Linked DNA regions of Homo sapiens: regions 1, 2, 4 and 5 are each linked to region 3. Evidence: promoter capture Hi-C in 16 types of primary human blood cells and fetal thymus (Javierre and others, 2016). All regions are on one chromosome and are shown on one strand. Each heading gives the region's core, a stretch centred on a gene start or on the middle of the fragment in contact. The rest is flanking DNA. Distances are from core to core; before and after follow the strand shown.

Region 1 (4,536 bases), core at 876-3,375, 310 kb before region 3:
CTGGGATAGGGAGGAAGGCATGTTAGGCTGCCTGGGTTCAGGCAGGGGCCTAGCCTACGTCCTGTCCTGGTCTTAACAGCTGCTTGCGGCGGAGTGATCCGCAATGCCACCACCGGCCGCATCGTCTCTCCAGGCTTCCCGGGCAACTACAGCAACAACCTCACCTGTCACTGGCTGCTTGAGGCTCCTGAGGGCCAGCGGCTACACCTGCACTTTGAGAAGGTTTCCCTGGCAGAGGATGATGACAGGTGAGGGGCTGTCCTAGTGGAATGGGAGTGCCTGGCCTGGTAATACCCTGCTGGAGGGACGCTACCCAAGCCTGGGGCCACACCCCATCTGGGTCAGCCACCAGCCTACATAGCTGCCACTCTCCTGGTTCAGGCTCATCATTCGCAATGGGGACAACGTGGAGGCCCCACCAGTGTATGATTCCTATGAGGTGGAATACCTGCCCATTGAGGGCCTGCTCAGCTCTGGCAAACACTTCTTTGTTGAGCTCAGTACTGACAGCAGCGGGGCAGCTGCAGGCATGGCCCTGCGCTATGAGGGTGAGCCTGCTGGGGCCTCACTGGGGGTGGCGGGTCCACGGGGATGGGCTCGGGCCTAGGGTCTTTCTCCCACACCCTACCCCTCTCTGCCTCCATGCTGTCACTCCTTCCAAGTCAGCCCCTGCTCACTCAGTACTTAGGCCCCCTTTCCCTGCCCCTCTCTTTGGGTCCGGGATCCCTACCACAGCTTTGCAGGAAACCTCTGCCTGGACCCAGGCCCTATGGTCCAAGGGAATAAATTCTCCAGATTTTGAAAAGCAAAAAAGGCCTCAACCCTTAAGAAAGAATTGCTGTAAGAGACATTCTAGAACCATTTATGCATGCATGCATTGATTAATTCATTCAAAAAACATGTATGGAGTACCTTCTGTGTACTAAGCACAAAACCAGGCAGTGGGAACAGGATGGTAATCAAGATGGCCTCCTGAGCATAATAGGGATGGATGCTCTTGGCTGTCCCTCCTCCATCACATTCCTGCTCCAACCCCAGGACATATATTTGTCATTCGTACCCAGGAAAAGAAAGGCTCTGGGGAGGGAAGTAGGGGGATGCTTGCCCACTGTGTTTAATACCAGTCAAGGCTGAGCTGGGCTGGGACCTGTGGTTTACAGCCTTCCAGCAGGGCCATTGCTATGAGCCCTTTGTCAAATACGGTAACTTCAGCAGCAGCACACCCACCTACCCTGTGGGTACCACTGTGGAGTTCAGCTGCGACCCTGGCTACACCCTGGAGCAGGGCTCCATCATCATCGAGTGTGTTGACCCCCACGACCCCCAGTGGAATGAGACAGAGCCAGCCTGCCGAGGTCAGTAGACACCAGTGGATGGGCCTACCGGGCAAAAGGCAGGGTCATACCAGGAGAATAGCAGCAGAGCCCGGGGCCACAGGGGCCCTGTGATATGCGTGGTTCAGGCTTCCTCCAAGGAGGAGGTGGGGGGTCCCAGCAATTTGTGGGCACTCCTGCGGGCAGATGGTAAGCAACACCATGGTAAGCTTGAAAAGACCCTTCTGGGCCTCCTCTGCCTTCCAGCCGTGTGCAGCGGGGAGATCACAGACTCGGCTGGCGTGGTACTCTCTCCCAACTGGCCAGAGCCCTACGGTCGTGGGCAGGATTGTATCTGGGGTGTGCATGTGGAAGAGGACAAGCGCATCATGCTGGACATCCGAGTGTGAGTGCCTACCGGGTCAGGCCGAGCCAACTCCTGAGGTCTGGGGATATCCCTTGTCCAGCCCATCCTCGGGCCCCCAGGCCGGCTCTGCCCTGACGCTCCTCCTTCACAGGCTGCGCATAGGCCCTGGTGATGTGCTTACCTTCTATGATGGGGATGACCTGACGGCCCGGGTTCTGGGCCAGTACTCAGGGCCCCGTAGCCACTTCAAGCTCTTTACCTCCATGGCTGATGTCACCATTCAGTTCCAGTCGGACCCCGGGACCTCAGTGCTGGGCTACCAGCAGGGCTTCGTCATCCACTTCTTTGGTGAGCTTGTCCCTACCCCACTCAGAGTGCAGACAGCAAGCCATGGCAAGCCAAAGAGGCTAGGGCAGTGAGGTGCCTGAATGCTGTCTCAGACAAGAGTAAGCTGGAAAAGCACCAGGGATCACCTGGAGGAAGCTAGTCCTGTTCTCCATCTGCCCTGAGGGAGAGCCAGAATTCTATAGTGGCAAGAGGGGTTTGGGTAGGCAGCAGAACAACTTTCTTTTTCTTCCTTTTTTTTTTTTTCTGAGACAGTTTCCCTCTGTCACCCAGACCATGGTGTGATCTCTGTTCATTGCAACCTCCACCTCCTGGGCTCAAGCGATTCTCGTGCCTCATCCTCCTGAGTAGCTGGGATTATAGGCACATGCCACCACGCCTGGCTAATTTTTTTATTTTTAGTGGAGACCGGATTTTGCCATGTTGGCCTGGCTGGTCTCGAACTCCTGGCTTCAAGTGATCTGCCCACCTCAGCCTCCCAAAGTGCTGGCATTACAGGTGTGAGCCACTGCACCTGGCCAGAACAACTTTCAAACAAAAATGGGGGAACTAAGGAAAGGTGCTGGCTTCTATCTTTCTGACAATCTTTCATAGAAGTGACGATTTCCCTCACCCTACCTGGCCCCATCTCTCAGGCCTAAGGAACTGGTCAAGGTGCTTTTGGAAGTAAGGCCAAAGCTTAAATGCTAACCCTGGAATCTAGGAGACAGAGCAATGTCAGGCAGTCAAGGAGGGGCCCTTGAGCAGGGAGGAATGGATCCCTGAGCCCGCCCAGGACAGTCTAGGTCCAGGACAAACTAGCAGGAGCCAGAGTGCCCTCAAGGTGAGGGGGACAGTCACTTTGGTGCTGGCCGAGGGCCTGCATCTTGTGCCTCTGTGCCCCCAGAGGTGCCCCGCAATGACACATGTCCGGAGCTGCCTGAGATCCCCAATGGCTGGAAGAGCCCATCGCAGCCTGAGCTAGTGCACGGCACCGTGGTCACTTACCAGTGCTACCCTGGCTACCAGGTAGTGGGATCCAGTGTCCTCATGTGCCAGTGGGACCTAACTTGGAGTGAGGACCTGCCCTCATGCCAGAGGGGTGAGTATACCTGTTCCCCACGCTCCCCTTCCCAACACAAACTCCAAACCTCTCTCCTGGATTCTGAACCAGACTGTAGCTGTTATTAGCTAGTATCTTCAAAGTTCCTTCACCTCTTATAGCCTCAGTTTCCTCATCTGTGAAATGGGGATGATACTTTTCATGGGGTTATCAGCCACGTACTCTAAGTATTTCATTCCTGGTAGATGGCCAATCAGTTTTTATCGAACCTAATAGATGGGAAGGGGACAAATGGGGGGACACACTAGCATAATGGTAGGGACAGATACGTAGGGGGTAGACCCATACGACATGAAGAAGTTAGCTGGCCTGGAACAAAGCCAGGGTGGATTGGCCTCTGCTTAGTTCTCCTTGGGCTACTTCTCCCCATCACCCCCTACCCATAGTGACTTCCTGCCACGATCCTGGAGATGTGGAGCACAGCCGACGCCTCATATCCAGCCCCAAGTTTCCCGTGGGGGCCACCGTGCAATATATCTGTGACCAGGGTTTTGTGCTGATGGGCAGCTCCATCCTCACCTGCCATGATCGCCAGGCTGGCAGCCCCAAGTGGAGTGACCGGGCCCCTAAATGTCTCCGTAAGTGTCAATTGAGTAGGAGGGAAAACCTCTAGCTGGAGATAAAAGATGCTGCCCTGGAGGCCAAGGGCATGACACCCTCACTGCACTCTGCCTGCTTTGTAGTGGAACAGCTCAAGCCATGCCATGGTCTCAGTGCCCCTGAGAATGGTGCCCGAAGTCCTGAGAAGCAGCTACACCCAGCAGGGGCCACCATCCACTTCTCGTGTGCCCCTGGCTATGTGCTGAAGGGCCAGGCCAGCATCAAGTGTGTGCCTGGGCACCCCTCGCATTGGAGTGACCCCCCACCCATCTGTAGGGCTGGTGAGTGCCCTGTCACCCCTCAAAACCCTCCCTGGCCCATAGAGCTGCTCTGGCAAAGATGTCCAATGTTTAGAACCAGAACCACCTGCCCATGCCACCTTCATGTTACCCTTGGTCTCCCCAGTCTCTGCCAGATCCTTCTGACCTGGCATCACCAAGACAAATGCTGGAGTGGCCTCTCCTTGGACAAATCCTTCCCATGATCATCCCACTACCTCCTCTCCCTGCCTTAGTGGTTTGGCCCATTGGGCTCACTCACTGCCCTTGGCCCTCCCCTTTTGTTCCAGCCTCTCTGGATGGGTTCTACAACAGTCGCAGCCTGGATGGTAAGTCTCCACCCTTGAGGCCAGAGAAGTGGTCTCCCTGGTCCTGGTTCTCACGGCTCCCAGGTCATGGGCTTCCCAAGGAGGGAGGGCAGAGAAAGAGAGAGGTTTGGGCCTAGCAGGTTAAAAAGCTCCTTCCCTACACCCAGCCAGCTAGAGGGAGCTGGTAGTCAGATGCCCTTGGGCAGAGGTGAGAGAATATGGG
Region 2 (4,800 bases), core at 1,302-3,801, 260 kb before region 3:
GTGTATTATGGACAAATGAGAAATGAATTCTTTTTCTGGCTGTCCATCTATTTTATTTCAAATAAGGAAAAGTGTATTTGGATTTTGTGTAAATACATCTAGTGATGACATTTTTTCAATGTTTTTAAAAACCGTGTACAGTACTACATGTGGTAGAGCGTTTTCTCAAATTGTCTATTGTAGCAAAAATGTTTTTGTCGTAAACCTGTTTTGTCTCCTTTTTTTGTTCTCTTGCCACTTCTCTCCTCTTCCTCCTGCCCCTGGTTCCCTCCTCTCCTCCCACCCCCACAACCAGTACCAATGTACATAGTAATTGTAATGTTTTAGACTTTACAGAAACTTTCCTGTATTCTGTATATAAAAAACAAAAATACTTCAAATTGTTTTCTGACTGTCTGTCCTACCTGTCATCACCCTTAGAGGAGACCCTCCCCTAGATCTGGGTCTAGCAGGTGGGGGGCCTTTTGAACAGGTCTCATTCCCATAGGGAAGTTTGGTAGGGGAGGTGTTGGAGAAAAGTGAGCCAGGGTGGGTGGATGACAATGGAATGACATGGGTGCGTCTGCTGGCCCGGGGGGAGCTGTTTCTCCAGAGAACCCTGACTGATAGTGGAATCTAGTCTTGACCTGTCACTTCTAGTCATGTGATCTGCAGTCACACTTCTCTACAACTGCTATTCCTCATCAAAAAACGAGTCTGCTGCATTACCTTAATTCTCAAGTCCCGGGGACCTTCATTAAACCAAATTCCATGCTTTCCTCCCAGATCTTAGTGAAAAACTCTCCAGGAAGTTTTCCTGAGGTCAGCCTCCTCAGATGGAGAGCACCTCTGTGTATATTCCAGCACTGTTTGTGTAGGTGCATCTGCTTGTGTGTCAGGATTTTGCCTTAGGGATAGAAAATGAATATTCTACCCCCAGCCTCATCCCACAGCATCTACAATGGAAACCCGAATCCGCAGTGCAGCTAAATAGGAAACTGGCCCTGGAATCTGAGGTCTGTCCCTGACTTTCATCTGCCCATGCAGGCGTCATCACTCTGCTCCCGGTGCCCTAATGGGCTTTTTGAACTCCCTAAGGACAGAAACTTGTATATCTTCCACTCGGAATTTCCAAGTCTAACTACACTGCTGGGCACACCATAAGTGCCAAATACCAGGTTCTAAATTGTACTGAATGTATCAGGCAACGGCCTTCTGCCCTGGAATGGTCTTACCCATTTGTTCCTAGCCAGCCCCACCCTTCCTGCCATCATGGTCACTTGTAATTGAGTGATGGAGCTTCTCTGCCTGTCTCTTATCACCTATGAGAACCATTCCAAAGGCAAATTTCCTCCTGAAAGGCAATAACAGATTTTACTCTCTATCTCTTCCTGCTTCCCTTCAGCCATGGAAGGCACTAGTGGGGTTGAGGTAGGGAGATACAGAGGGGGAATGAAGGAGTGAATTCTGACACCCCTTAACTGCCTGTGCCACCTTTAACAGTGTCCTCTCTAGCCTGTGTGGGGAGAACACGGAAGAATCCTAGAAGCTGGGGGCTGGATGTGAAGATAAGAAAACGAAGGATTTGGCCCAGTGCAGAGGCTCACACCTGTAATCCCAGCACTTTGAGAGGCTGAGGCAGGTGGGTCACTTAAGGTCAGAAGTTTGAGACCAACCTGGCCAACATAGTGAAAACCCTTCTCTACTAAAATACAAAAATTAGCCGGGTGTGGTGTCACACACCTGTGATCCCAGCTACTCTGGATTCTGAGGCAGGAGAATTGCTTGAACCCGGGAAGCGGAGGTTGCAGTGAGCCGGGATCACGCCACTGCACTCCAGCCTGGGCAACGAGAGTGAAACTCCGTCTCAAAAGAAAGAAAGAAAGGAAAGAAGGAAGGAAGGGAGGGAGGGAAGGAAGGAAGGAAGGAAGGGAGGAAGGAAGGAAGGGAAGGAAGGAAGGAAGGAAGGAAGGAAGGAAAGGAAAGGAAGGAAAGGAGAAGGATTTGTGCAGAAGGGAAGGAAGGAGAAGGATTTGTTCTTAGAGGGAAAAGCATCTAGGACTAGACTCAAAGACACACGTGTATTCATGTACACACCTAACTTCAGAAGGGAGGGACTGTGCTACATACACCTCGAGTAAACATATGGAGATATGCAAGCACATGCACTGGCAGAGACTACAGATGCAGGCACATACCTGGAGGGACTCTGCCAGAATGCACACAAACACCTACAAGGTGCTTACAGGAGCTCACACACAGGATCCAGAGGCACGCACACAACCCAAAGGGTGATCCTCAGGGACATGGGCACATACACACCTAGAGATCATTCACATACAAGCGTTGCAGATGCATGCACATACCTAGCGTGCACTCACAGGGTGTACGTGGACACACACACCCAGGAGTTCACACAGGCACACACCTAGGGGGCGCTCCCAGGGCCCAAGCGCACACACTCACCTCAAAGGTGTCCACAGAGGCACACGCCCCCAGGACGCCGACGCACGCCTAGGGGGCGCTCGCAGGGCCGGCGCGCACCCGCACGCGCACACGCCCCTGCCCAGCCTCCTGCCCGCCTCCGCCTTCGGAGGCTGACGCGCCCGGGCGCCGTTCCAGGCCTGTGCAGGGCGGATCGGCAGCCGCCTGGCGGCGATCCAGGGCGGTGCGGGGCCTGGGCGGGAGCCGGGAGGCGCGGCCGGCATGGAGGCGCTGCTGCTGGGCGCGGGGTTGCTGCTGGGCGCTTACGTGCTTGTCTACTACAACCTGGTGAAGGCCCCGCCGTGCGGCGGCATGGGCAACCTGCGGGGCCGCACGGCCGTGGTCACGGGTGAGTGCGGAGGCGGGTGAGTGCGAGCTGGCGGGGCGCGCGGAGAGGAGGCCGGGCCGGCGGTAGCAGCGGCCCGCCGGGCTCAGCTCAGCTCGGCTCCCGCCCGCGGTCCGCAGGCGCCAACAGCGGCATCGGAAAGATGACGGCGCTGGAGCTGGCGCGCCGGGGAGCGCGCGTGGTGCTGGCCTGCCGCAGCCAGGAGCGCGGGGAGGCGGCTGCCTTCGACCTCCGCCAGGTGAGAGGCAGCGGGGGCGCGTGGGACGGTGAGCCGAGAACCCGCCGGGACACAGAGAAGCCAGCAAAGGGGCTGCGGAGGATCCGGGTCCAGGGAGGAGAGCGCGGCGCGGGCGGCTGAGCGCGAAGAGGGAGTGCACGGAGCGCTGGGGTCACCCGAGGAAGGCGCACCAGAGCCGAGTGGGGGAGGGGCTTCCTGAAGGCCGTAATTGCAGTTCTGAGACGTTTAAGCATCAGTAGAAGTTGGGTTAATGATCAGTAGGAAAGGGAACAGCAGAGGGCACAGCATAAGCAAAGGCTCTGAGGCAAAGAGAGCTGGACTGATCTGAAAAACTGAGAAAAAGATTTAATGAGGCTGGAGCACAAAGTATGAGGAAGATGGGCAAATGAGGGGGCTGGAGAACATTCTAGAGCCTATTGAGAAGCTTGGATTTTATAGATTGGGCAGCAGAGACCAGTGGAGACCATGAACAGCCCTCAGTAGGCTCCGGACTGTCAGAATAGCCTTTGGAAGGAACTCCTTTGTGGCTGCGTGGTGCCTGGAGTGGGGGGGCAAGAGCGGGAGAGAGGAGACCAGTGAGAAGTTACAGATTTTAGGGTAAATGGTAATGGGGAAAGGAGGTGATAATAATAATAGCAAGTACCTACCCAGTGCTGCTAGAGTGTATTTTACACGTTAACTCCTTTCATCCTCACAAAAGCTCAGTGAGATTGGGACTGTTGTTATTATTATTCCCTTTACGCAGTGAGAGAACTGAGACCCAGAGAGATTAAGTATCTTGCCCAAGGTCACACTTTAGTAAAAGGCAAAGTCAGGATTTGAATCCACACACTTATCTAGTACACTCTAAGACACAGGGGCAGATTTTAGTAAACAGTAGGAGATGGACTCTCAGAATTTGGTGCCTGGGGAGAGGGAAGAGGAGAGAGATGCCTGGTGACAAGCCCAGCCCTTGCCTCTCCACAGGAGAGTGGGAACAATGAGGTCATCTTCATGGCCTTGGACTTGGCCAGTCTGGCCTCGGTGCGGGCCTTTGCCACTGCCTTTCTGAGCTCTGAGCCACGGTTGGACATCCTCATCCACAATGCCGGTGAGGGGCAGCAGGCCCTGCGTGGGGGTGGGGTGGCGGGTGGCCAGGGGCAACTGCCCCCTCCAGCGGGGGCCCTGCTGGGGCCAGTGGACACATGGGAAGGATGCCCCCTTCTCCCATCTCATAGATAGGGATGCCAAGGCTGCAGAGCTCCTTCTGGAGCAGCCGCTCACATTTAGCCTCTGCCCCAGGTATCAGTTCCTGTGGCCGGACCCGTGAGGCGTTTAACCTGCTGCTTCGGGTGAACCATATCGGTCCCTTTCTGCTGACACATCTGCTGCTGCCTTGCCTGAAGGCATGTGCCCCTAGCCGCGTGGTGGTGGTAGCCTCAGCTGCCCACTGTCGGGGACGTCTTGACTTCAAACGCCTGGACCGCCCAGTGGTGGGCTGGCGGCAGGAGCTGCGGGCATATGCTGACACTAAGCTGGCTAATGTACTGTTTGCCCGGGAGCTCGCCAACCAGCTTGAGGCCACTGGCGTCACCTGCTATGCAGCCCACCCAGGTGAGGTCTGGTTCTTTGGCTTCCGATTCCCCTCTCCTTTCCTTGCCCCATCCTGTGCCCCCCACACCACTACCGCCTCCCCACCCTCCATCCCTCATTGAGTCACAGAATCTCAGGGCAGCAAGGAAGCATAGTCCAAGGAGAGACCTGTTCCTTGCTG
Region 3 (4,375 bases), core at 639-3,138:
GGTGAACGGAGATGGCTGCCATCTGCTGGAATTTCAGTGACTAGCAGGCTTTTTTTATTTTTAGAAACTTCCGGGTTTTGTTCTTTTTTTTTCTATTTGTTTTGTTAATGTTGAACATTTAGAGACACCATTTCTGTGCCAAACATGGCCCGTGACGTTAAAAGACTTGGTCTCTTTTACAAGGGCTTGTGGTCTCAATAAATGGAGGCCATGAATTAGTTGAGCCCCACTGTTGCCTCAACCACCCCCCACCCCCGACTCCCTGCCTTTATTCCACTTCACTTGTGTTGATCCCTTAAGATCTCTCCAGAAAGAAATAGACAAATCATAAAATCAACATTTTAGGCTATGAGATGGCTGGGAGTAGGGCCGGTAATAGTCAAGGGAGAAGGAAGGAAGTGACAGGAATCTTGGTTCAATAAACAGATTGGATAAGATGAACCAGAGTAGGGATACGTGTTGCACGGCACCCCTCCTTGACTTGGACAGAGGTTTTCAGTGAATTGGGCCTTCCCAGAGCATTCGGAGGACATACCCTGGGGGAAGGCTGCAGATGACGAGGAAGATGACGCAAATACAGTGCTTGAGAGGTAAGTATGACCTTGAAACAGCAGCGCTGGAGCTCTTGGGGAGATGTGAAATCACTGAAGAGAGGAATAGATAAGGGAGGAAACAATCAGAGGAGTGAAAGCAACTTCGGGCAACACACAGGTGAAAGATGAAATGGTGTTTTATCTGAGGGAGCCAAAAAGAGAGGCTCTGAGTAAAATCTTGAAGGATATATATGGAGATTAGGACGTGGGAGCGAAGGGGTATGAAAAGAGACATGACCTCCTCCATAATACTTATTTTGAAACCGTCAGGATTTCCTTAGCTTGTGCTGTATCAGTAGATCATCATTCAGATACTGATCCTTAGCACAGTAACGCTGAGGGACCTTTGTCCTGTTCTCTCATTTTACAGAGAAGGAAGCAGGCAAAACTATGTATTGTCTATTTTATGTAATTATGTTTGCTTCCCAGATAAACTACACAGAAGGAAGCAGGCAAAACTGACTATGTATTGTCTACTTTATGTAATTATGTTTGCTTCCCAGATAAACTATTTTTTGCTAAAGGGCAAGAACAATATTCACTACTTCTGCAGTATCTCCTCCTCTCCTCCATCAGGGCCCAGTTCGTGCCATAAGTAGATGGACCAGAACAGTGTTCAAACAGTAAATGAAGTAAAAACTCATTGGCCAGGAACCGTGACACGCGTCTTTAGTCCAAGCTACTCAGGAGGCTGAGGCAGGAGGATCCCTTGAGCCTGCAGGAGTTCGAGACCAGACTGGGCAACGTAGCGAGTCCTTGTCTCAAAGAAAAAAAAAACAAAACCTCATTAGTTTCCTCTGTGGATGGAATGAGGCGAGATTTTTGAGGCCTTTTAATTACCTCCTAGTTTCTGCCTCAGTAATTTTCAAACAGGATCTTGAATAAGATGGGAGTGCTACCACGTCTGACCAGGGGTGTAACTTCCGCAGAACCCTGAGTCCAGGCCTAAGTGGCTAGGCGGACTCCAACTCCCCTCAAAGTGAGCTCCCCGGACCGAAATGAGTCAGCCAGGTCCACCGCCAGCCCAGGTAGTGGGCCCGGACTCCGACCCCCGCGGGTCCCCGAGCCCCGCGGTTCCGGGCACCGTGGTGTGCGCCCGGGGCGTGTTTCAGCTCTTGGTCCGCTCCCCCTCGCCCTCCTCCCGGAACCACGCCCGCTCCTCGCGCACGCAGCCCGTCGGCCCTGCAGCGTCGTAGGACAGGGCGGGACTGGGGTGGGAGGCCGTTGGTTGGCTGGCGGGCTGCGGAAGGCGGGGCTCGTGTGCGCACCAGCGCGTCCTCGCTCAGCGTTGCTCCTGCGCGCGCAGCTGGTCGGCCCGCGGCGGTGCTGCGCGGATCCGGCGTCGGGGCCCGGCATGGCGGGGGCCGGGGCCAAGCCGGGCCGGACCCGGACCTAAATGCCTCTGTTCTTCTCCGCGCTGTTGGTCTTGCTGCTAGTTGCGCTTAGCGCCCTCTTTCTAGGCCGGTGAGGGTTCCCGGCCGCGCCGGCGGCGGCGGCGGCGGCGGGAGGGAGGGGGCGGAGAGGAGGAAGAAAGACTGAGGAGGGGGCGCGCGCCTTACTGAGGCGCGTGAGGCAGAGTGGGTAGGGTGGAGGGAGGGGGCGCGCGGCGAGGGGAGGGATCGTGAGGAGGCGCGTGGCCCGAGCTCCCAGGGATGGGCTGCGAGTTGGGGAGACTGAGGAAGCGGGCGGGGTCTGAGGAAATGCTGAGGCCAGGAACTGAATAGGAGTGTGAGGAAGGGGCCTGGTTCAGTGGCTTCCCTTTCCCCCTCCACCCACCCCTGCATGTCCCTTTCGCCAAGCGCGATGGGCACCTGCAGCATCGGTCTGGGGAGAACAGCATTCGAGCTGCCGGGTCTGACCTCAAAGTGCCTTCTCGTGGATACCTGTCTGGAGGGTGGGAGCAGGAGACAGACAGACCCTCTGGGGAGTGTGATGGCACATGTGACAGAGCCGCCTCCGCTTTGACTCTTGCTGGGGTCTTCTCTCTCTGCCTCTGGGATTCATAACAATTTGAGGGATTTTGTTTTTGTCTTCAACTTAGAGGGTGCAGTTTCTGGTTTCATCTGGGTGGAGGGGTCAGTCGGGAGCTAGGATCTTGATCAGCGTGGCTGAATGTATATGACAGAGTGGTGCTTTGGAAGAAAGGAGAGTTGCTCAGATCCAGTTTCAGGAACGACCTTTTGCAAGGCTTTGAAAGACCAGCAAGGGGTGAGGGAAACCATCATTGGAAAAAGGTCCTATGAATTAACAGGAATTTTTCTGCAGGTGGCTTGTGGTCCGGTTGGCCACCAAGTGGTGTCAGCGGAAGCTGCAGGCGGAGCTAAAGATTGGCTCCTTCCGCTTTTTTTGGATCCAGAATGTCAGTCTTAAGTTTCAGCAACACCAGCAAACAGTGGTGAGTTCTGGGAAACTCTGGATATGTGTGTAGGGTTGATCCAATTGAATTTAAACTCTTAATTTCCTTTTTTTAAAAATAGAAATCCTGGTGGCTTTTCTAGTTAATCCCAGCCTTGCCATTTCTTTGCCAAGATGATCTTAGAGCTAGTTGGAGAACGCTGCAAGTTGTTCAGTTAAAAATGTTTGTAGGACACAGAGTGTCCAGGGCACATAACAAAGATACAGAAGAAAGATAACAGGAAATCGAAGATTTTACTGTTCTAATTTAAGATGGGATTCAAGGCAACATGGCTATGAAAGAGAAATTCTAATAATCCAGAACATTTCCTGGCTTGTCAAGCTGCTCGTGGCTTATTTAGCAGCTAGCACACAGAGCTTTCTCCCTCACTGTTTTAGGAAATTGATAACCTGTGGATTTCCAGCAAACTCCTTAGCCATGATCTTCCGTGAGTACCCTATATTCTCACTTCTCCCCTAGAAGAGTACTTTGGAGTTGGTGTTTGCAGAGTGACACTCTTCTGCAGAGGCATCACAATCCAAGGAGGAAGGGAGGTTGTTGCTGAAGTCTTCCTGTTAGCCTGGGTGCCATTGTGTTGTGAGGAAGATATTGATAACTGCTATGAAACTAATCTCTGTGATTTGAGCTATATTTCTAGGAAGGATGAGAAAGTGAATGTGAGGGTGGGGAATAGACTGCTATGGGAGGGATGGACCTGGTGGCAGTGAGATTTCTCTTCTGGGCAGACACTATGTGGCATTGTGCTTTGGAGAAGTGCGTATCAGAACGGACCTACAGAAAGTTTCTGACCTGTCTGCCCCATTCTCCCAGAGCGCTGGGGTGGATCAAAAGGAACTGTCCTTCAGCCCATCCTTATTGAAGATCTTCTGCCAAGTGAGACAACTTCTCCTGCTATCCTGGACTGTACTTTGGCATGGTTGGCTTTGGAGTTATGGGTAGATTTTTCTGTTTTTAGGGCATAATGCTAAGAGCTGCCCCTCTTTCTCATCTGGAAAGGAAGGGCAGTTCCTTAACATTAATTATTGTTCATCCTTGCTTCTTCCTTCCAGCTATTCTCCATTCATGTAGATGCTATAAACATCATGGTTCTCAAGGTGGATACCTCTGAGTCCTTATGGCATATTCAGATCAGTAGAAGCAGATTTCTTTTGGATAGTGATGGGAAAAGGTAAGCACTGGGGAGCAGAGGATCTAGCCGTCCTATTCTTGCCTCAGAGTTGCTTCAGGGCCTCCTTATCAAGGTGTTAAGTTCTCATTCTGTGCAGTTGGAGGAGATGCTAAGATTAGACATTTCCAATTGCCTTGTCCCTTCTAGCCACCAGAGCTTGACTGGAGGTAAGTGGTGAGGAAAGGGACCAAGTTCTCT
Region 4 (4,366 bases), core at 1,784-4,283, 290 kb before region 3:
ATGCAGACCTTTAGGGTGATCATTCTTTGGTTAGGGACCATCTGAAAGAAAAGTGGACCAAAGGGGAAAATCATGGCTCTGGAGAAGTATGTTCAACTCATAAATAGGTCACTGGTGGGTATAACTGGAAGGCTTTGGAAGCCCAAGTCAGCACTTAGCTGTGGCATCAAACCATGACAGCACAGTTTGACAGCATGCCCAGGAGATTACTTCAGTCCTGTAGGGTGGGGAGCTTTGATGTTTATGAGTGGAATTGGGGGATGGGAGAGGGTAAGGGTAAAAGTAGGGGGGTATAATCCCTGTGCTGGCATGGCCCAAATAGTATTATTCTCACTTTTTCCTGTTTCTATAGACCCTGTCAGGGGAGGGTAAATTAAACCAAAGTCCCTCCTTAGGAAAAAGCAGCTGGGTCTTAAGTAGAAACCTGCTCTCAGGCTGGGTGCGGTGGCTCACACCTGTAATCCTAGCACTTTGGGAAGCTGAGGTGGACGGATCACAAGGTCAGGAGTTCAAGACCAGCCTGACCAACATGGTGAAACCCCGTCTCTACTAAAAATACAAAAATTAGCCGGGTGTGGTGGTGCCTGCCTGTAATCCCAGCCGCTCAGGAGGCTGAGGCAGGAGAATCAGTTGAACCGGGAGGCGGAGGTTGCAGTGAGCTGAGATGGTGCCATTGCACTCCAACCTGGATGACAGAGTGAGACTCCATCTCAAAAAGAAAGAAAGAAACCTGCTCTCTTGATTTTGTTGGGTTTTAAATACATTGTTAGTATTTTTTGTTTTCTGAGCCTTTATAGAATTTTAGGTACAATATATATAAACTGTAAACTGGCCCACATTCCTGAGCTGTGTCTGCAAGAAGTGTGTCACCTGGCTATTTCCTTTTTCTTGATAGTCTGTTAAAATTTGGCAATAGAATAGTACCCAGCTTTCCATACCTCTGAGACTCTTCCAGAATACAGAGTTGGCAGTTGTTGGTTCTTCCTTCCAATGGAATGTTCCCAAGAGTGTGAGAAAATTACCGTTGAGGCCAGAATTTTGTCCCTTTTCCAAAACAGGTGGGCTCTAGCATCAATCATGAGGTGAATTAATGAAGGCCCTTTTTAAAATGTTTGCACCCCAGCCCATCTTTCTTTGTAGAGAAGCCAGAATTGCAAGAATAGCCAAACCAGGCTAGTGATAGATCAGGCCCTTGAGACTGAGGCTCAGCTTGTAGAAAAGTTAGCAGAGGCAAACACCTGGTATAACTGTCAGTGCTCTACCCTCCCTGCTTCCTTTTTTCCCTGTACTAACTAGTAACACTCGTATCCAGGTGTCCTTTACCGGGAAGATGCCACCAGCCAGCTCTACATAGAAGGCGATAAAACTTGGGGGCACAGTCAGCCAGTTTAAAAGGATTGTTTGCCTGTGGAAGTGACGCAACTAGCTAAGTTTCTCAATGGGGCATTTGTAATGTTCTGGCACTTCATTTGTTTCCTTGTTAACACTCTCACTGAGGCTTTGCATGAGAAACCCAACAGTCCTTGTACCTTTTTATGTACTTTGTGGCATTAGTGGTGTTTGAGTCAGTAGCCAGGATGAAGGAGGATAAGGGATTAAGGTTGAGGGACCCTATGAATTTTCTCCTTCCATCTCTTTAATATCCTTCAATATAGCTATCTTCCTGCAAAAGACAGGCCATACTTGAAGAGAAAAGCTGATGCCCACACAAGTGTCCAGAGGAAGCTAGCTATTTCTGCTGACATTTACATTTCATTAAATGTTGTTCCCTCAAGGCATGCACTTTAAAATTTGGGTGTATTAATGCAACTTTTAATTTAAATTAAAATTTAAATTAAACTTTACCCAGCACCACTTAGCTTTTCCAGGACATAAGTTTGTTTTCGTTTATAAAAGGCTGGTTCTCTGTGCTCATGGCTCCCTTTATAGAGCAAAATGGCTGCTAGGAGGCTGAGACATGATTGTGGTCCTTTCAGTGATCACCTTCACTCCCCATTTTGGCTAGTATCAACACATTTTCTGAGCTGGATGAGGGCCGCAGGGCCAGTCTGAGGGAGAGTAGGCTAGTTCTGAGCATGTATTTATGTTTTGCAGTTTGTCTTACACAGTGAGACTAAATATAATTGCAGGATTTTTATCTGGTAGTGGTCCTCAGATGGATGGATGAGCCCCGTGAACTGTGAAATTAAAAATCAAAACTGCTCAGTCCTATTGTTTGCTTGCTGAACACCTCTTCCCCCACCAAAAAAAAGGGTGGGGAGGCATACAGATGATGATAGGGGCAGTGAACTCTTTCTTTTTAGTCCAACTGATGTTTTATTTTGACTGAAACTGAAACTGCTATAGATGGCTAGAGAGCTTCTGATTCCTGAAGAATTACGGGTTCTGACAAGAAAGACCCTACCAGTTCATGTGACTGACCTCTTTTGGAAGAGAACCTGCTTAGTAGGCTGTTGGTGTATTGTATATGGATATGCTATTTACATAGTGTTCCTGTTAAGTATTTGTATTAAATAGAATTATTTTGTTAATCCAGAAAGAGAAAATGGAGTGTACTTTTTCTTAAATATTTTTCATCTACTTGCTTTCTCTCCCTCTACCTCTCGCCTCTTCCCTTTGTTCTCTTATTCCCCCATCCCCCGCTCTCCCCTCCAATTCCAGACTGAGAAACTGCTTGTTCTGGATGGATAATTAACATGGTGCTGTGGAGCAACAGGTCCCACTGGTAGCGACTAAATCTGAAGTAAATGTTAATGTCGTGCAGGTTCACATGTATTAATAGGCGAGGGAGATGAGTGAGGTTAGACTCAGATCAACCACACTGGTATATGACTTGAAATAGATCCTCTTAATTAGAGCGCCAAGAACCATGACAACTACCAACATCTTCTACTTGCAGTGTTGAGCTGCAGCCTTATTAGTGAATGCAAGGCATTCTAAATTAAAACTGAACTTTAACCTCGGGCTGAGAGTTGGGATCATCTGGCTCTGGGCTTCGATTTGAATCTTTGAAACAGAAATCTGTCAGTATAGGCATTACAGTTAGCTGAGGGATGTATGTTTGTGGTTTTCTCCTTGATGACTCCAGAAATAGACTGATCTAGATAACCTTCTCAGCAGTAGAGATGGGCCATTTGGATTTGTTTATGGGAGTCTAGGTATGTTGGAGTCATGCTGAAGAGGTTGGCTTTAGGAATTGGTTTGTATGTTAATATTACTCTTAACACTTTGTAGGCCCTCTAGGCCTCACAGAGAGCCACACCAAACTGAGAAACATACCCTCCAATTGAATGTACAGTCTCTGAAGATTTAGGGCTTTACTGTTATGAACAGCTTTATAACTAACAGCATGTCTTTAAGATCAGGTAGTGGTTAAAATAGTGAGCTGGGGCCAGGAGTGGTGGCTCACACCTGTAATCCCAACACTTTGGGAGGCTGAGGAGGGCGGATCACTTGAGGTCAGGAGTTCAAGACCAGCCTGGCCAACGTGGTGAAACCCCATCTCTACTAAAAAGACAAAAATTAGCCCAGTGTGGTGGTGCATGCCTGTAATCCCAGCTACTCAGGAGGCTGAGGCACAACAATCTCTTGAACCCGGGAGACAGAGGCTACAATGAGCTGAGATCGCACCACTGCATTCCAGCCTGGGCGACAGAGTGAGGCTCCATCTCAAAATAAAAAAATAAAATAAATAAAATAAAATAGTGAGTTGTAAAAGCAGTGAACGGTCGCTTTCTGGCCAGGAATTGTAGGCCAGGGCCTTTTAACAAATGATCTGGTAGGAAATTTATCAACAGCAGTGAAAATGGGAAGATACTCTGCAAGAGCTCTGTCTTCATAGGGCACTGTCATCTCTGCCTATGGAAAAGAATGCATGTCTCATAGCAATGCAGGCTATGCTCTTTTGAAGCCAGAAAATAAAGTAGAGGTCCTTGGCTTGTTGGCTAAAAAGCTACCAGTTTTCCAAGACAAGCCAGTTCAGGTACAGAAGACAACTATTCCAGAGCTCACCATCCCAAGTACTCAGATAATTCTCAGAAGGAATCTAAAGGTTCAAACATGCTGGACACAGTGGCTTACGCCTGTAATCTCAGCACTTTGGAAGGCATAGGCGGGTAGATCACCTTAGGTCAGGAGTTCGAGACCAGCCTGACCAAGATAGTGAAACCCTGTCTCTACTAAAAATACAAAAAGTAGCTGGGCGTGGTGGCGGGTGCCTGTAATCCCAGCTACTCCAGAGGAGAATTGCTTGAACTCGGGAGGCAGAGGTTGCAGTGAGCAGAGATCGCACCATTGCGCTCCAGCCTGGGCAACAGAGCAAGACTCCATCTCAAAAAAAAAAAAAAAAAATAGAAAAGAAAAAAAG
Region 5 (4,780 bases), core at 2,107-4,606, 270 kb before region 3:
CTCAAATTTCTTTGTGCATGTAAAAGCAAATACAGATATATGCTGATTAATTTTCCCTTAAGTAACATGCTAGTTAAACCATTCTACACGTTGCTTTTTTTTTCTCACTTTAAAATATGTTCTAGAAGTCTTTTCATATTAATATAGAATTTTTTTTTTTTTGAGACAGAGGCTGCACTGCACTGTGGTGCAGTGGTGTGACCACAGCTCAAGCAATCCTCCCACCTCAGCCTCCCAAGTAGCTGGGACCACAGTTGTACACCACCACACTCAGCTAATTTTTATATTTTTTATAAAGACAGGGTCTCACTATGTTGCCAGGGCTGGTCTCAAATTGTGCTCACACGATCCTCCCGCCTCAGAGGATCCCAAAGTGCTGGGATTATAGGCATGAGCCACTGCGCCTGGCCTTCTTGCTTTTTTTAATGGTTGCATAGTAGTTCTTTGTACAGATACGTCATAATTTATTTAACCAGTGCCATTTTCTATTAATGGACATTTTCTATTAATGGACATTTAGGTTCCAAATCTTTCATTACTACTGGTAGTGCTTCAGAGAATAACTTTGTAAATACATCATTATATACATGTATAGATGTGTGACTATGTCTATAGGACAATAAAATTGCTGGGTCAAAACTATATAGTTTTGATAGATATTGCCAAATTGTCCTCCATTCTTTTTTTTTAAGTCCTGGCTTCTTGATACTGTAAAGCTTCTAGGTCTTAGTTTTTATTCCCAAAGAAAGTGAAATTGGTAGGCTTAAGAAGGATGCATATAGAATCAAAGCTTCTCTGATTTTTATGAAAATGTGGGCCAGGTGTGGTGGCTCACACCTGTAATCCTAGTACTTTGAGAGATCAAGGCAGGAGGATTGCTTAAGGCCAGGAATTGGAGACCAGTCTTGGCAACATAATGAGACCCCATCTCTCAAAAAATAAAAATAAAAAAGTTAGCTGAGTTTGATGGCCCACACCTGTAGTCCTGGCTCATATGGAGGCTGAGGCAGGAAAGTTGCTTGAGCCCAGTAGTTCAAGACTGCAGGCCAACTCCACAGAATAGTCCTTGTTGACTATGTGGCTTGGACATTTACATTTCTTAGGTTGCCTGTATCTAACCTAGCATTTCTGACCATTTTATGTTTGCAAAACAGTTAGATGTGTTTCTGCCATAGAACAGGTGACTTCTGGTTCTGACTTACGTATTAGTCTCTTTTTTTTTCCTCCCTAATCTTTCTTTTTTCTAACTTAAAATCAACCCCAGGGGCCTCAGAGAGCAATTCATGCTTAGGCCATGACACATGCTTAAGATCTGTTTTTGTCACTTAATGTTGTTTCCATATTGCAGGCTAGGAACTCTGAAGCCAGGGATAGCTCAGCACCATCATTTTCTTTTCTAGGTTCTAGCAAGAGGAGAAGAAAGGAGGAAACCACAGGGAAAAATGTTAAGAAGACACAGCATGAATTAGATCACAATGGTCTCGTTCCCTTACCCGTCAAAGTCTGCTTCACGTGTAACAGGTATTTTCTTTCATACTAAGGGGCTCTTTCTCATTATTTAGCAGATGATACTTTTTCTCTCATCACCTCTTCCAGACCATGTATGTTAAATGTGAACAGCCCATATTCTGATAGTATGAGTACATGGAGACTAACTAATGGACTGACGAGAGCCTTGAATGTGTATGTGTTAACAAATTTTCTGAAGAATCACAGTACAGGAGTACTGTGAACTGTGTTGAGGCCGAGCACGGTGGCTTATGCCTGTAATCGCAGCAATCTGGGAGGCCGAGGCGGTCAGATTGTTTGAACCTGGGAGCTTGAGACCAACCTGGGCAACACAGTGAAACCTTGTCTCTACAAAAAAAAATTTTTTTAATGAACCAGGTATGGTGATACGCACCTGTAGTCCCAGCTACTCCAGAGGCTTAAGCAGATTAGCCCTGGAGGCTAAACTGTGATCACGCCACTGCACTCCAGCCTGGTCAACAGAGCGAGACCCTGTATTTTAAAACAAAAACAAGGGGCCGGGCGCTGTGGCACATGCCTGTAATCCCAACACTTTGGGAGGCCGAGGCAGGCTGATCACAAGGTCAGGATATTGAGACCATCCTGGCTAACATGGTGAAACCCTGTCTCAACTAAAAATTCAAACAAACAAAAAAAAATTAGCCGGGCATGGTGGCAGGCATCTGTAATCCCAGCTACTCTGAAGGCTGAGGCAGGAGAATGGCATGAACCTGGGAGGCGGAGCTTGCAGTGAGCCAAGATCGCGCCACTGCACTCCAGCCTGGGCGACAGAGCAAGACTCCGTCTCAAAAAAATAAATAAAAATAAATAAAAACAATGGCCCGGTGTGGTGGCTCACGCCTGTAATCCCAACACTTTGGGAGGCCGAGGCGGGCAGATCATGAGGTCAGGAGATCAAGACCATCCTGGTCAACATGGTGAAACTCCATCTCTACTAAAAATACAAAAATTAGCTGGGTGTGGTGGCACGCACCTGTAGTCCCAGCTACTCAGGAGGCTGAGGCAGGAGAATCACTTGAACCCAGGAGGCGGAGGTTGCAGTGAGCTGAGGTCACGCCACTGCACTCTAGCCTGGTGACAGACCAAGACTCCATCTCAAAAAAACTGTGTTTACACACTAGAACAAGAGGAGTTGGACTTAAACTAAACATTAACTTGAATCACTAAAGATAAGTTTAAAAGTAGTATAAGGATCTATGATAGTGTGTATTGGACTGGATGACTTCCAAAAGCCCCTAGGGCTGCCCCAGTTATAGTCTCTGGGACACTGGTTTCCTTCAAATAGGATCTCTTTGACAGAAACCAGCTGCTTCAGTTACTGAAGCTGGACTTGTTGGCTTGGGTGTGTTAGAAGGACTGTATTATGGTCAGAGCAGGGTAGCAAGAGAAAGTAACTATCAAAAAGAAATGTTTCACAGCAAAAGGTATAGGGAAAGGGAACTAGATAGTAGAGTGGCAGAACTCTGAGCCAGGACAAACTGTGGCTCCAGTGCATCTTGGGGACCCCAGGAGTATTGTAGTTACAAATCGTAGTTGTCATTTGCTTAGTCCTCTTTTGAACCCTGCTTACATGAATACATTACAAAATCATCTTTCCAGCACACCTCTAATTGTCAGTTCTGCTGAGTGCTTCATGCAGAAGAGAAATATTTTCTTGCTATAGTTAAGACTCCAGAAAGGTTGCTAGTGATTTTTTTAATGAAGTAGGCTCTCTCTTTTAAGAAGTAGGAAGATCAGAGCAGAGTTCACTGTTTTCCCCTAGTGAGTACTGAGCATTGATCATCCCTACTCTGCCACTTTAGCTGTACTCCAAATAAACATTCACTTTCCCGCAAGACATGTTCTTCTTAGAAGAGAGAATAATGAAGAACCTAATGGGAGCCCCCAAATCCATCCATGTTGTTTTTTTGTTTTGTTGTGTTCTGTTTTGTTTTGTTTGAGATAGAGTCTCTCTCTGTCACCCAGGCTGGAGTGCAGTGGCGCCATCTTGGCTCACTGCAACCTCCGGCCTCCTAGGTTCAAGCAATTCTCCTGCCTCAGCCTCCCGAGTAGCTGGGATTACAGGTGCCCACCACCACGCCCAGCTAATTTTTTGTATTTTTAGTAGAGACAGGGTTTCACCATGTTGGTCAGGCTAGTCTCAGTCTCAGTCTCCTGACCTCAGGCAATCCGCCCACCTCGGCCTCCCAAAGTGCAGGGATTATAGGCGTGAGCCATCGCACCAGCCCCATCCATCTTTCTAATCATAAATGTAACTGAATCACTGGAGGAAGATAGGGGAGAATGTTAGGATCAAGGAGGGGAGAATGTTAGGATCAAGGAGGGGAGGCTGTTCCACAGGTCAAAGTTAGTTTGAATTTTCCTTTTCTTGCCACAGAAATGGCCAACATCTCTTTTTTGCAGGAGTTGCCGTGTGGCTCCTCTCATCCAGTGTGACTATTGCCCTCTCCTGTTTCACATGGATTGCCTCGAGCCGCCGCTCACTGCCATGCCCCTGGGCAGATGGATGTGTCCGAATCACATCGAACATGTGGTGGTAAGCACAGCAGTGTCCATTCAGTCCTCAATGGGCATAGCTGGAGCGTGGACTGATTAGCAGAAAGCATATTAAGGTCAGCTTGGTGCCAAGTTCACCACATTGTCATAGGTACTGGTTTCTGCAGGCCACCCTACTCAATTCTGATCATTTTGACATATTTCAGCTATGCTTTTTCTCACAATGTTTTGTTTCAGCTGCCCATACAGACTTAACTCACTAGTGCTTGGTTGTTTGTAAGTGACTTATAGGGAATTAAGCAGTTGATGTTATAGCCCTAAAAGGGGAGTATATTAGATCCAACCTTAAGGAAATAAATCGTTGGCTGTCTGGGGTACATGTGTCCCAGGCACCAAATGAAGTTTAGTAAATAAGCTGTTGAATGAATAATAGTGTGAAGGTCCTATTGCTTTCTCTTCCAAGAGTCTTGGGTTTATTTTCCAGACTGAGGCTAGAAAAGAGCTGTCACTTGCTATCTCCAAAAGAAGTTTAGGACATCTCTTTATAGGCAGTTAGAACAGTCACTCACAAGATTGAATGGGAGAGGATTTGAGGAGGAGGAGCTCCCTCATAAGAGCAGCCTTCCAAATTAAAAAGGCTACTGCTTAAGACATTGTCTGTCAAATGATGATAACCATGGAATGACCGTTGGCCTTCATGGCAGTGTGCTGCTGACCTTGCACTGAGAGGAACCTCGGTTAAAGACTTGCACAC

Evidence for each region. The method cuts DNA at HindIII sites, captures the fragments that hold promoters and counts their contacts. A CHiCAGO score of 5 or more calls a contact.
Region 1: a fragment that was not itself captured here is called in contact with the fragment with the promoter of BLTP2 in region 3 in 3 of 17 cell types (naive CD4 T cells, fetal thymus and activated CD4 T cells); the score reaches 5.7 in naive CD4 T cells.
Region 2: a contact is called between the fragment with the promoter of DHRS13 here and the fragment with the promoter of BLTP2 in region 3, in 1 of 17 cell types (activated CD4 T cells). The highest score is 6.0, in activated CD4 T cells.
Region 4: a fragment that was not itself captured here is called in contact with the fragment with the promoter of BLTP2 in region 3 in 3 of 17 cell types (activated CD4 T cells, total B cells and naive CD4 T cells); the score reaches 7.2 in activated CD4 T cells.
Region 5: a contact is called between a fragment that was not itself captured here and the fragment with the promoter of BLTP2 in region 3, in 8 of 17 cell types (activated CD4 T cells, total B cells, total CD4 T cells and 5 more). The highest score is 14.7, in activated CD4 T cells.

What each region holds. Positions count from the first base shown.
Region 1 is chr17:28,956,517-28,961,052 of GRCh38, reverse strand. It overlaps SEZ6 (seizure related 6 homolog), which reads left to right. Exons shown (of 17, transcript NM_178860.5): 6 at 80-248; 7 at 382-548; 8 at 1,161-1,355; 9 at 1,581-1,719; 10 at 1,832-2,028; 11 at 2,912-3,106; 12 at 3,514-3,705; 13 at 3,811-4,008; 14 at 4,296-4,334. The region is part of intron 1 of LOC105371716 (a long non-coding RNA gene); the gene reads right to left. Among named protein-coding and RNA genes, the nearest start is that of PHF12, 7.3 kb to the right of the region's middle. RefSeq lists enhancers at 1,104-1,604, 1,605-2,105. The HindIII fragment of the contact is 1,160 bases long and covers 1,546-2,705 here.
Region 2 is chr17:28,900,830-28,905,629 of GRCh38, reverse strand. It overlaps DHRS13 (dehydrogenase/reductase 13), which reads left to right and starts at 2,551. Exons shown (of 5, transcript NM_144683.4): 1 at 2,551-2,812; 2 at 2,929-3,047; 3 at 4,014-4,137; 4 at 4,329-4,640. The coding sequence starts at 2,686. It overlaps PHF12 (PHD finger protein 12), which reads left to right. Exons shown (of 15, transcript NM_001033561.2): 15 at 1-380. RefSeq lists silencers at 2,329-2,958, 3,460-3,652. The HindIII fragment of the contact is 5,010 bases long and covers 1-3,473 here.
Region 3 is chr17:28,642,671-28,647,045 of GRCh38, reverse strand. BLTP2 (bridge-like lipid transfer protein family member 2) reads left to right here and starts at 1,888. Exons shown (of 39, transcript NM_014680.5): 1 at 1,888-2,057; 2 at 2,859-2,988; 3 at 3,387-3,436; 4 at 3,735-3,882; 5 at 4,059-4,177. The coding sequence starts at 1,990. RefSeq lists silencers at 1,502-1,731, 1,752-2,091. The HindIII fragment of the contact is 8,883 bases long and covers 1-4,375 here.
Region 4 is chr17:28,934,595-28,938,960 of GRCh38, reverse strand. All of the region lies in intron 2 of PHF12 (PHD finger protein 12), which reads left to right. All of the region lies in intron 1 of LOC101927018 (a long non-coding RNA gene), which reads right to left. Among named protein-coding and RNA genes, the nearest start is that of PHF12, 15 kb to the left of the region's middle. The HindIII fragment of the contact is 7,754 bases long and covers 1-4,366 here.
Region 5 is chr17:28,918,429-28,923,208 of GRCh38, reverse strand. It overlaps PHF12 (PHD finger protein 12), which reads left to right. Exons shown (of 15, transcript NM_001033561.2): 5 at 1,401-1,521; 6 at 3,934-4,066. Among named protein-coding and RNA genes, the nearest start is that of DHRS13, 18 kb to the right of the region's middle. The HindIII fragment of the contact is 5,127 bases long and covers 793-4,780 here.